Regions from separate parts of the Homo sapiens genome. Here regions 2 and 3 are each linked to region 1. Evidence: promoter capture Hi-C in human tissues and cell types (Jung and others, 2019). All regions are on one chromosome and are shown on one strand. Each heading gives the region's core, a stretch centred on a gene start or on the middle of the fragment in contact. The rest is flanking DNA. Distances are from core to core; before and after follow the strand shown.

Evidence for each region. Contacts are between HindIII fragments. The study calls those that stand out against the background at their distance.
Region 2: a contact is called between the fragment with the promoter of FKBP8 here and the fragment with the promoter of CERS1 in region 1, in 3 of the 25 tissues and cell types used here (IMR-90 fibroblasts, dorsolateral prefrontal cortex and lymphoblastoid cells).
Region 3: a contact is called between the fragment with the promoter of KLHL26 here and the fragment with the promoter of CERS1 in region 1, in 2 of the 25 tissues and cell types used here (dorsolateral prefrontal cortex and mesenchymal stem cells).

Annotation. Positions count from the first base shown.
Region 1 is chr19:18,894,353-18,897,876 of GRCh38, reverse strand. CERS1 (ceramide synthase 1) reads left to right here and starts at 1,719. Exons shown (of 8, transcript NM_021267.5): 1 at 1,719-2,053. The coding sequence starts at 1,805. GDF1 (growth differentiation factor 1) reads left to right here and starts at 1,719. Exons shown (of 8, transcript NM_001492.6): 1 at 1,719-2,053. RefSeq lists a silencer at 2,669-2,718. The HindIII fragment of the contact is 24,852 bases long and covers 1-3,524 here.
Region 2 is chr19:18,542,323-18,545,846 of GRCh38, reverse strand. It overlaps FKBP8 (FKBP prolyl isomerase 8), which reads left to right and starts at 2,274. Exons shown (of 9, transcript NM_012181.5): 1 at 2,274-2,361. RefSeq lists a silencer at 2,029-2,458. The HindIII fragment of the contact is 12,332 bases long and covers 1-3,524 here.
Region 3 is chr19:18,635,301-18,638,824 of GRCh38, reverse strand. KLHL26 (kelch like family member 26) reads right to left here and starts at 1,797. Exons shown (of 3, transcript NM_018316.3): 1 at 1,688-1,797. The coding sequence starts at 1,770. RefSeq lists enhancers at 844-1,358, 1,359-1,873, 1,832-2,126 and silencers at 1,613-2,122, 2,173-2,332, 2,343-2,422, 2,463-2,652. The HindIII fragment of the contact is 11,173 bases long and covers 1-3,524 here.

The DNA of each region.
Region 1 (3,524 bases), core at 470-2,969:
CAGCTGAGATTGCGCCACTGCACTCCAGTCTGGGCAACGGAGCAAGACTCCAACTCAAAAAAAAAAATGAGCTGTATGTATGTAGGGGCAGATGGTGACAAGTGCCAAGCAGACATGAAGACATGAGGGGCGTGTGACTTCAGAGTCGGGGGCAGCCTGAGCAGGTGGCAGAAGAGCCATGCAGGTACCTAGGGGAACAGCATTTCAGGAGGGGGGAACAGCTAGTGCAAAGGCCCTGAGGCAGGACAGAGCTTGGCATGTTGGAAGAACAGCAGAAAAGCCCACAGGCGGAGGGAAACAGGGCGCTGTGAGGGCAGCCAGTGAGGACTTGGGCTTTCCCTGAGTGGAACAGGAGCCATAGAGGGCTGCAAGCAGACGAGGAACAGGCCAACAGCGTCGCAGCCACCTTCTCACCTCTGTGGGGTGAGGAGGAAGCCAGGATACCAGACGGAAGAGGGTAGTGGTGGTAGTGGTGGTGGTGGCGGGGAGCGGGGGGCAAGGCTGTGCAGATGCAGAGAAGTGGCCAGATGCAGGGCCACCTGGATGTGTTGTGGGGGACTCGGTGTGGGGCAAGGGGAAGGTGTGTTCACCTGTGCCCCTGAAGTTCAGGTGCAGGTGTTCGGGAGCCAGCGCGGCTGCTGCAGGACTCATCCCTGCATCCTGCACCTTGAAGGCCAGGTGTGGGGACATCCTGCGGGCTAGGATGGAGGGGGGGTGCAGCAGTGCCTGGGGAGATGGCGGTCCTAACAGAGGTGACCAGTGTCTTCCTCGATGGCCTTCAGTGGCTTTGGGCACAGGGCCTTGTCAATGAACAGTGCATTGGAAAGTCACTTATGGTGGTCCCAATGATGTCACAGTCGATCCAGATTGGGAGTCCCTCCCACGTTGGCACCCACTCCTGCAGCCTCTCTGCAACTCATGTATTAACCTGATGTTGGGGAGCCCCCCCCCCGGGTTCCCCAGGGTCACAGCAGCAAGTGACCCTCAGAGAACCCCCTAATCTCAGCAGCCCCCATCACACCTTTGTCCCAGTAGCCCGCTGTGCAGACCTGCAGAAGAAGATGCCTGGGAAGTGCCCAGGGTACCCGCGTCCAAGCTGGAACCCCATTGCCAAGCTCCTGGTGTAGGGCAGAGAGCTGCGTCTCCACTAGGTGCGCCTCCCAACGCCCTGGCGTGGGCCGTGTCCTTTTGAAGAATGAGAATGTTTCATTGAGCCTACGCCTCCTGAATGCGGGAGGGCCACGGGATGGTCCCAAGACTGTGCCAAGGCGTGCCAGGCCTCGGGTCCTTGAGAAGGAGCGAGGGCTCCAAGAACGGTGAGGTCGGAGCGGGCCGGGGCGATGGAGCGGGAGCGGCGTGGCGTGCTGGAGGGCCGGGAGAAGCGGGGGTCGCCAGTCGAGGGGACTGCCTGCTAGTGTCCCCCGTGCCCCCCGTCACGGGCACGGCGCGGTGGGGTGGGGGAGCGGGGGGCGCGCGGGGCAGGCATGGGGGCGCGACACGGCGGTGCGCGGGGTCTCTCGGGGTCCAGGTCCAACGGGCCCCCAGCTCCGGCCCCCGCGCCTGGGTTTCTCTGCTGGGAAACGGGCAGGGGCGCGGGCCCGCCTCCAGGGCGCCCCGCGTCCCCGCTGGCCGCCCCCCAGCCGCGCCCCCAGCGGGGCGGAGCTTGCGCCGGTCCCGCCCCTCCGCCCTCCGCTCTCCCGCCCGCGCGCCCCCGGCCCAGCTGCGGCGCGTGACGCGGGGCGCGCGGCTCCGTCGGCTACCGCGGGCGGGCGCAGGCGACGGGCACGGCGGGCGAGCGGGCGGTATGGCGGCGGCGGGGCCCGCGGCGGGGCCGACGGGGCCCGAGCCCATGCCGAGCTACGCGCAGCTAGTGCAGCGCGGCTGGGGCAGCGCGCTGGCGGCGGCGCGGGGCTGCACGGACTGCGGCTGGGGGCTGGCGCGTCGCGGCCTGGCTGAGCACGCGCACCTGGCGCCGCCCGAGCTGCTGCTGCTGGCGCTCGGCGCGCTGGGCTGGACCGCCCTGCGCTCCGCGGCCACTGCGCGCCTCTTTCGGGTCAGTGTGGCCGGGGGCCGGGACGAGGGGACCCCGGACTGGGGGAAGCCGGGACCGGGGACCTGGGGCCGCCGGCGCGTTCCTTTCTTCCAGCGCTGGCTGCTGCGGATGAAGGGGTCGCCGGAACGTGGGTGGGGGCCTCGGGCTGGAGAGGCCCAGGACGTTGGAGCCCCAGGATAAGGTCTCTCGGGCCGCCGCGCGCCCCCTTCAGACAGTGCTGCGTGGGGGAACCGGGTAGATGCGGGGGTGTGGCCGGGCTGGGGTGAGTCTGGGACATGGGGGGCCCGAGACAGGTGGGATGTTTGAGACGTGGGGGACCGAGGCACGGCCCTTTCCGGTCAGTTTGGGACCAGGGGGCCCCGCGCGGTGGATGGCTCCGGCCACCGCGCGCTCTTTCCGGCAGGGCCGAGCCAGACACTGAGAAGCCCAGGACCGGGAACGGGAGGGCTCGGCGCACCGCGGCCTGCGCCATGCGCCTCCCTGCCATGCGGGCTGCGCCCCGGCCCGGAGCGAGGTCCGCTGCCCGTTTTCTGCTGGGTCCGTGCGGCGGCGGGGCCGGCTTGCCCGCTGTAATCGGGAAGAGGCAGGAGCTGCCCGGTCGCTGCCTTGTGCCTATCTGGGGTCAGCGCCACCCTCCGACCAGGGATGGCAAGGGCCTGGGTGCTCTGGCCACGCCAGTGGTCGCTCCCTTGGAGGTGACATGGCCCGGGGCTTCAGGGTTGGACTGTGCTGCCTCCAAGAGGCGACAGCAGAATTCCCCAGTTTCTGCGGAGACCATCGCCCCTGCGAGAGAGTGACCATGATGGTGACATTGGCGCCTGACCCCACTCACTTCCCTGGGGAGGGGTCGCTGTGGCAGGAGCTGGTTGGAAGGTGTTTGGGCCTTTAGCTTGGCCTGGACACCCCCGTGGACCAGCTGGTGTCACCCCGCCCGTCTGGCTGGAGGGTGCAGGGACAATGTGCCCAGCGCCAACAAAGGGGCCTTTCTCTGCTGGCCGGGAAGAGGCTGGCCCTTGTGAGGTCGATGATGGGATGTTGTCTGACTGCCACTCTCCCCACTCCCGTCCCCATATCACCCACATGAGGGAGAGACCCCAGCCACACCCCTACTGTGGGAGGGGGAGACAGGGCTGTCCAGGGCCCCTCCCTGGGTCCGCAGTGGTCTTTATCCTGCTTGTTGCCCCTGCCTTCTTCCCAGTTTCCAGCTGGGAAGCCCGAGACCCAGGAGGGCAAGCCGTCCCCCACCCCTGCGGGACAGGAGGATGTGGCGGCTGGTAGACTACCAGGGCCGAGCCCCGGGGGCCCTCCCCAGCCCCTTGGGTGGGGTGCTCGCCCCATTTCGAGGCTCGCCCTTCCTCAGAAATGGGTGGAGGGGCTGCCGGGTGTTCCAAAGCTGATCTTCTTGGCAGCAGCCTGGTTGCCAGGGGTTACCGGAGCCGGCTCCAGCTGTCTCCATGACAACTGCTGGGTG
Region 2 (3,524 bases), core at 1,025-3,524, 350 kb after region 1:
CCTGGGCAACATGGGGAAACCCCATCTCTACAAAAAATATAAACATTGGGCCGGGCGCGATGGCTCACGCCTGTAATTTCAGCACTTTGGGAGGCCGAGGTGGGCAGATCACAAGGTCAGGAGATCGAGACTATCCTGGCTAACACGATGAAACGCTGACTCTACTAAAAATACAAAAAATTAGTCGGGCATGGTGGCAGGCGCCTGTAGTCCCAGCTACTTGGGAGGCTGAGGCAGGAGAATGGTGTGAACCTGGGAGGCGGAGCTTGCAGTGAGCCGAGATTGCGCCACTGCACTCTAGCCTGGGCTACACAGCGAGACTCTGTCTCAAAAAAAAAAAAAAAAATTAGCTGGACATGATGGTGCACCTGTGGGCCCAGCTACTCAGGAGGCTGAGGCAGGAGGATTGCGTGAGCCCAGGAGATAGACATGGTTGCAGTGATCTGAGATCGTGCCACTGCACTCCAGCCTGGGTTTCAAAGTAAGACCCTATCTCAAAAAAAAAAAGGCAGAGATATAAGTAAACTAGTTTGGGAAGCCGAGGCAGGCAGATCATGAGGTCAGGAGTTCCAGACCATCCTGGCCAACATGGTGAAACCCTGTCTCTACTAAAAATATACAAATTAGCTGGGCATGGTGGCGGGTGCCTGTAGTCCCAGCTACTCAGGAGGCTGAAGCAGGAGAATCGTTGGAACTTAGGAGGTGGATGTTGCAGTGAGCCGAGATCGCGCCACTGCACTCCAGCCTGGCGACAGAGAGAGACTCTGTCTCAAAAAAAAAAGAGAAAGAAAAAAAAAAAAAAGGCCAGGCACGATGGCTCATGCCTGTAATCTTTGGTACATCGAGGTGGGCGGATCACGTGAGGTCGGGAGTTTGAGACCAGCCTGACCAACATGAAGAAATCCCGTGTCTACTAAAAATACAAAGTTAGCCAGGCATGGTGGTGCATGCCTCTACTCCCAGCTACTTGGAAGGCTGAGGCAGGAGAATCGCTTGAACCTGGGAGGCAGCGGTTGCGGTGAGCTGAGATTGCGCCATTGCACTCCAGCTTGGGCAACAAGAGTGAAACTTCTTCTCAAAAAACAAAAACAAACAAACAAACAAAAAACCCAAGTAAACTAGTTATGAAGTGGACGTTCATCAACTTCATTGTGCCAAGACAGCTAAAGGGGGCACCTGGTCTTGCCTTGGGGAGGTTGGGAGGGCTTCCTGTAGGAGGTAACCTGGGAACTCCAACCTTAGAAGTGATCTCCAAAAAGCCAGTTACCACCTCCATGATAGCTACCTCCAAAAGCTGGTGTCTGACTCATCCATCCATCCATCCATCCATCCATCCATCCATCCATCCACCTACCCATTTATTGAGCTTCTATAGATGCCAGGCATGGTTCAAGGAGGTGCTGGGTACAAATCAGGTAAAAATCTCTGCCAGGATGAAGCAGAGTGAGGGATGGTCCCTCCAACCACAAGCAAAATAATGACAAGATAATTCTGGAAGGAGTAACTGCTAGGAAGGAAATAAAACTGAGTGAAGGAGGGAGAAGTGTCCCGGTTTCAAAACAAGATCCACAAAAACTTAGCTAATCAAGGATGCCACCTTCTTCCCGAGCCATGGGGACCTTATCACCCTCCAGCAGACAGTGCATAGAGGAGGAACTCCTCCCAGTGGCCCTGCTGGCTCAGTCGCCTGCGCAGCAGTAATCGAGCGCCTCCAGTATGCACCAGGCAACCTTCTAGACATTAAACTGTGTGGGGGATGGGAGGGAGGTTTCTGTATGCCTTTGGGCACGTCACTCCTCCTCAGGCCCTCAGGTTCACTTCTGTAACTAAGGCTTCAGGATGGGTCATTCAGCAACCCCAGAGCTGCCCTGCCCGTCAAGCTTGAACTCTTTAAGGAAATAACATTTAGAGTGGACTGTGCCCCCAGCAGCCCCCAAGGTGAGAGTGCATAGATGGGGGTGTTTATCCCCATTTCGCAGATGGTCAGGATGAAGCTCAGAGGAGAGGCAGGAGTCGCACAGGCTGCGCGATACTGACCCGTGTTGGGGTCCAGCCCAGGGTCCCCCGCCCCCGCCCCAGCCCCCGCCCCAGCCCCCGCCCCAGCCCCCGCCCCAGCCCCAGCAGCCGGGAGGCTTCGGTCCCTTTAAGAACGCCCCGCGGGGCCAAGCAGGAAGGGGGAGGTGCCAACGCCCGGGACGGACGTCTGCATGAGCCAACGGGTGCGGCAGTCGCGGCAGCGGCGGCCAATGGGCACGGCAGGGGCGGGGCCAAGCGGCCGAACCTGGTTCCCGAGGCGCGGCGGCCGCGGCTGGGGGCGGGGAGGGGGGCGCAGGACCCCAAGTGGGGGTCCCGGAGCCAGAGGCAAGTGTCCTGGGGTGCTGGGGGCGCCGTGCCGGCCGGGCCGCTGCCCTGGCCTAGGCTGGTCCGGGGGCTAGCGCGCCGGGGGCTGCGGCCGATGGGCGGGGCGAGGGGCCGCGGGGGTGGCGAGCCGGGGGGGCACGGGGGTCGGGGGTGCCCGAGGGGGCGCGGCCGGGCGGGGGTGGCCAGGGATGGGGGTCACTGGGGGCAAAGGGGATCCAGTGGGGGGGTCCCGATGGAGGCGTGCAGGGCCAGGGGCGCCCGAGGCGTGCGGGGGTCGGGTGCCCCAGACTGGTGGCGTCAGACAGGCGTGGGTCGTTGGGGGCCTGGGTCGCGGCTTGACTGAGGGCCCGGCCGGGGCTGTGGGGCGTCAGGAGAGCGTGGGGTGTTATGGGATCGGAAAGGGGGGGGCGTCTGGGGACACTGGAGTGTTTACGGCGAGACGGAGCGGCTGTGGGGGGAGCTGGCCCGTGCTGGGGGCGGTGGTGGTTGGGGTGGGGGGTGGGAGGGGAGGCCGAATTGTGCGGGCGCGGGGAATTATGGGGGTGGGGGCTGGGAGGGTCTCTCAAAGTGGGGCTCCGAGCCCGGGAGGAGCAGGCAGGTGAGGGTTAGGGAGGGGATGCGGCGGGCTGGTTTGATGGCTGTGCCACACTCTTCTGAGCTTGGGGCCTGGGGGACGGAGGGGTTGGTTATTGGTTCAGGAGGTCTGGGGCAAGGAAGAGGCTGTAGAATGTGGTGGGACCTCGACCACTCCTGGAAAGGAGGCTGCTTTGAGGGGGTGGGACCGAGGCCTGATGAGAGGAGGATGGTCTCCTGGGGAAGGATTTGGGCCAGGGTCCCTGATGTTGGGGTTGTGGGGGATAGTGTTAGATTCAGAGTGTGGAAGGAAAAAACGCTTGGGGTTTCTGGGTGATTACAGTTGGTGCTTTTGGGGAGGGTCTCCCCTTTGGAGAAGAGGCTGGAGGTGGGAGGCCCTGGTAAAAGATTCAATTTCCCCCAGTGGCCTTAGAGGCTCTAAAAATGGCTTCCCTAAGGCCTCGGAGGCTGTCCTCTCCACAAAAATCCCAGCACCCTTCGCTCAGCTTATAATCAGGCAAAGCCACAGGGCCTGAAGCCCCAGGTTCAAATCCTCCTTTGGCCTTTGGCTTTCTCTGTGACCTTGGGCA
Region 3 (3,524 bases), core at 548-3,047, 260 kb after region 1:
GGAGGCTGAGGTGGGAGGATCACTTGAGTCCAGGAGTTTGAGGCTGCGGTGAGCCTTGGTGGCGTCACTGCACTCCAGCCTAGATACCTGGGTGACAGAGCGAGACGGGGTTTCAAAAAAATAAAAATAAAAAAAGCCCTAGCCCCAGGTTATCCCACTCCAGTGCCCAAGGCAGGGACCTGGGGTTCACTGTCCCTCTTCCCTGTCCCTTACTTGCCAACTGATACCCAATTTTCAAGCCCTGGCCACTCCCTGAATATCTCTGAAAATCCTCTGACATCTCCTGGCTCCCTACTGCAGGACAATCTTGCCCCACACCTACCCCAGGAGGCTGGTCACCCCTCTGGACACACACCTCCTGGGTTCCCCATGGCCCCTCTGGCAGACCAGATTCAATGCCCACAGACCTAAGTCTCAAGGTGCCACTCAGCATCCTCAGGAACAGGCAGGGCCTTTGCCTCCTCTGTGCCCTGGCCCAGCCATCCCTCCTCCCTTCCCCACCCATCCCATGCGTGTTCCATTCAGTACCAAATCACACAGCCAGGCCATCAGGCCATTCCCTCCAACAATCAGCCCACAGGTCCAAAACTCCACAGCACGTAAGTATCAAACAACTTCATCATTTATCATGTTGCCTGAAATTACTGGCTCCTGGAAGCTCACCAGCAAGAAAAAGCCTGAATTTCCTCCTTGGCCTGACCTGGGTGCTGGGCTAGAGGAGGAGCTGGGGTGGGAGGGTCTGGCTTTGCCCAATAGGAAAAGAGCAGGAGATCACACTCCTAAGGCAGGTGTTCTTTCCCTCTGACAATCCAATACAATGCATGCACACACATATCATTAGTTATTGATGATAACTAATTGTCATGCAAACCTGGACGTTCAAGCAATCCATGTCAGGACTGGGCCATGGGGAAAGGGGGCCTCCCTCTGACCAAAGGGGTGAATTCTGTCCCCTTGTCTGAGGGCAAGACCTTTCTGTAAGTCCTTTAGCCTGTTGGGGATGTGGATTTGGACCCCATGGGGATGGAAGGGAGGAGCCCCAAAGAAGAACCCTCTGTATGTTCTTTATAAACCCCCTGGAGTTCTCTCACCCCCCTCAGGTTCCCTAGACCCACCCCAGGCCCCCTCAGCCTCCCCATCTCAGACTCCCAGATTCACCTAAGTCCCCCACCCAGAGCCTCCCACAGTCTCTACTCCTTCCAGCGCCCCTCAGCACGCTCTCAGGACCACCTTTAGCCACCTTGGGGCCCTTCAGCACCTCCCAGGATGCCTTGGGCCTTAGCCCCTTCCTCAGAGCCCCCAAGACACCTCACCACCCTCAGACTGGCCATGGCATGGCCCCTGCTCAGGCCCTCTCTGCTGCCCAGGCCCTTTGGCATCCCCAGTTGCCCCACGGCCCACCACAGTCAAGAGCCCCTCGGTTTCCCTTCAGACCCCCAGGATTCTCAGGTCCCTAGGGCCGCCTGCAGACGCCTCGAGGTCCTGGGGCACCCAGCCCCCCTCCAGCCACCCCCTCAGTAGCCCTCGGCTCCTCCAGTACCCCACGGCCCCGTAAAGTCCAAATTCTCAGCGAAAGACCCTCGAGCCGTGCCAGGCCTCCCCTCAACCCCTCAGGACGCCCAAGACTGCCCACAGGTTTCCTGGGCTCCAAGACAGGTGCAGGTCTATCCTGCGGGCCGGGTCTCACCTGTTCGGGCGCTCGGGGCCCGGGCCCGCGCCGAAAGCGCCGCCGCCACCAGCACCACCGCTGCTACCGCCGGACTCCGCCATCTTCCCCCCGCCGTCGCGCGTTCGAGTGACGGGAGCCGCGCGCGCAGGCCCGGGAAACCGAGACGCGGGGGGCGGGGCGGGGCCAGGTCTGCGGAGGGGCGGGGCCGGGACCAGAAACCAAGGATTGGGGCGGGCCCGGAATCGGAGGGGCGTGGTCTACGGAGGGCCGGGGCGGGTCTGGGATAAAGGGAGGGGCCTGCTATGCAGAGAGGTGGGTCCAGGGCGGGGCCTGGGCTAGGGGTGCCGGATTGGGGCGGGACCCTGGCGTGAGGGGCGGAACCAAGTCTGAAAGGGAAGCGGTTCTGGGCTGAGAGGGCGTATTGTCTGTGGATAGGTGGGGACGGGGCGAAGCAGGACAAGTAGGCGCAGGATGGGGTTGGTCCCTGGGCTGAGGAGTGGGGCGGGGTCTGAAGAAGGGGCAGGCCCAGGGCAAGAGGAGGAGGGACAAGGGTCCGGCCTGCGGAGGAGGCGGGGCGCAGGATAAAGGGCGGGGCCAGGTGTGAGAAGGGACAAGGTGGAGGTTAGGAATGCGGTGGGGGAGTGGTCGGGGAGGTAGAAAGGAGAAGATGGGTCTGAGGTTGGGCGGGTCTGGGCAGGAGAGAGGAGGAATCTGGGGATGGATGTGGTCAAGCGAAGAGAGGGCCTGGTCTGAGGAAGGGCGGGGCCTGGGCGAGGGGTGGAGTCTGGTTGGAAGGAGGGCGGGGAAGATCAGGGGTGTGTGCGTGGAGGGGGCGAGGGATTGGCGGGGCCGGGGGGGCGGAGCCTCATCTGATGGGGGTGGGGCCGGGCTAAGTGAGCGGCGGATCTGAGGAGGGGCGGGGCACGTGCAGGTGTTAAGGAGTGTCTGTGAGTGCCCTGGGGCGCTGGCAGGCGTGCCCCGGGCGTTGGCTGGGCGTGGTTATACTTTGAGGCGTTGGAGCCACAGGGAAGTGAGTTATAGGTAGGGTGGGAGGGAGGGTGAGATGGAGCATGGAGAAATGGGTCTCTAAGCTCTGAGAACCACACCCTCCCTCTCCCCACCCTGCACACCCCGACTCCAGTCTTACCTCCTTCCCAGGCCTCTCTCAGGGGCGAAACTCACCCATGCCCAGGCCTCAGACTTCCAGCCCCTCATGGTTCCCCACCCTCCCCTGACATACCCTCTTCAGAGCCTCCACCCTGAGACCCCAATCATCTGGCCTTAGGTTCCCACCACCTGCTTCATACACCAATTCTGGTTTCTCATACTCTAAAACCCTGCACATCCAATTATCTCCCATTCTCTACTCAAAACTCATCTCCCACTCCCCCAAATCCCTGCCCACAGATCCTTCAAACCTTACACTCCCAAAGTCCATTCCACCGGACCCAACACCCTCAGATCCCCAAGCACCAGCCCTCCCAACACACTGACCCTCAGCCAGGGCTCAAAGTCCTGCATCTATAGGCGTCTATGAAGCATCTAGACCTTTTGGGGGCACCCCTCACCCCCCATCTCTGGTAAGCTCCAGGCTCCCAGGATCCCCTCTGTAGCTTGGAGCTCATTTATTCTTTTAACCTCCAAGTCAGAAAACTCTGACTTGTGCAGTCTTGGGCAGAAAGCAGTGATCCAGAAGGAGCTCAAAGCCTTCTTTCCCGTCAGTGCTGGAAGAAGGAGGTGGCTATGGGGCTGGAGACCCCATAGGAGGAAGGAAGGGGCCTGCTTGAGTGGACTCCTGCAGGTTGGACCGCACTCAACCAGCATCTCCAACAGAGGGCCTGATACAACAATACGT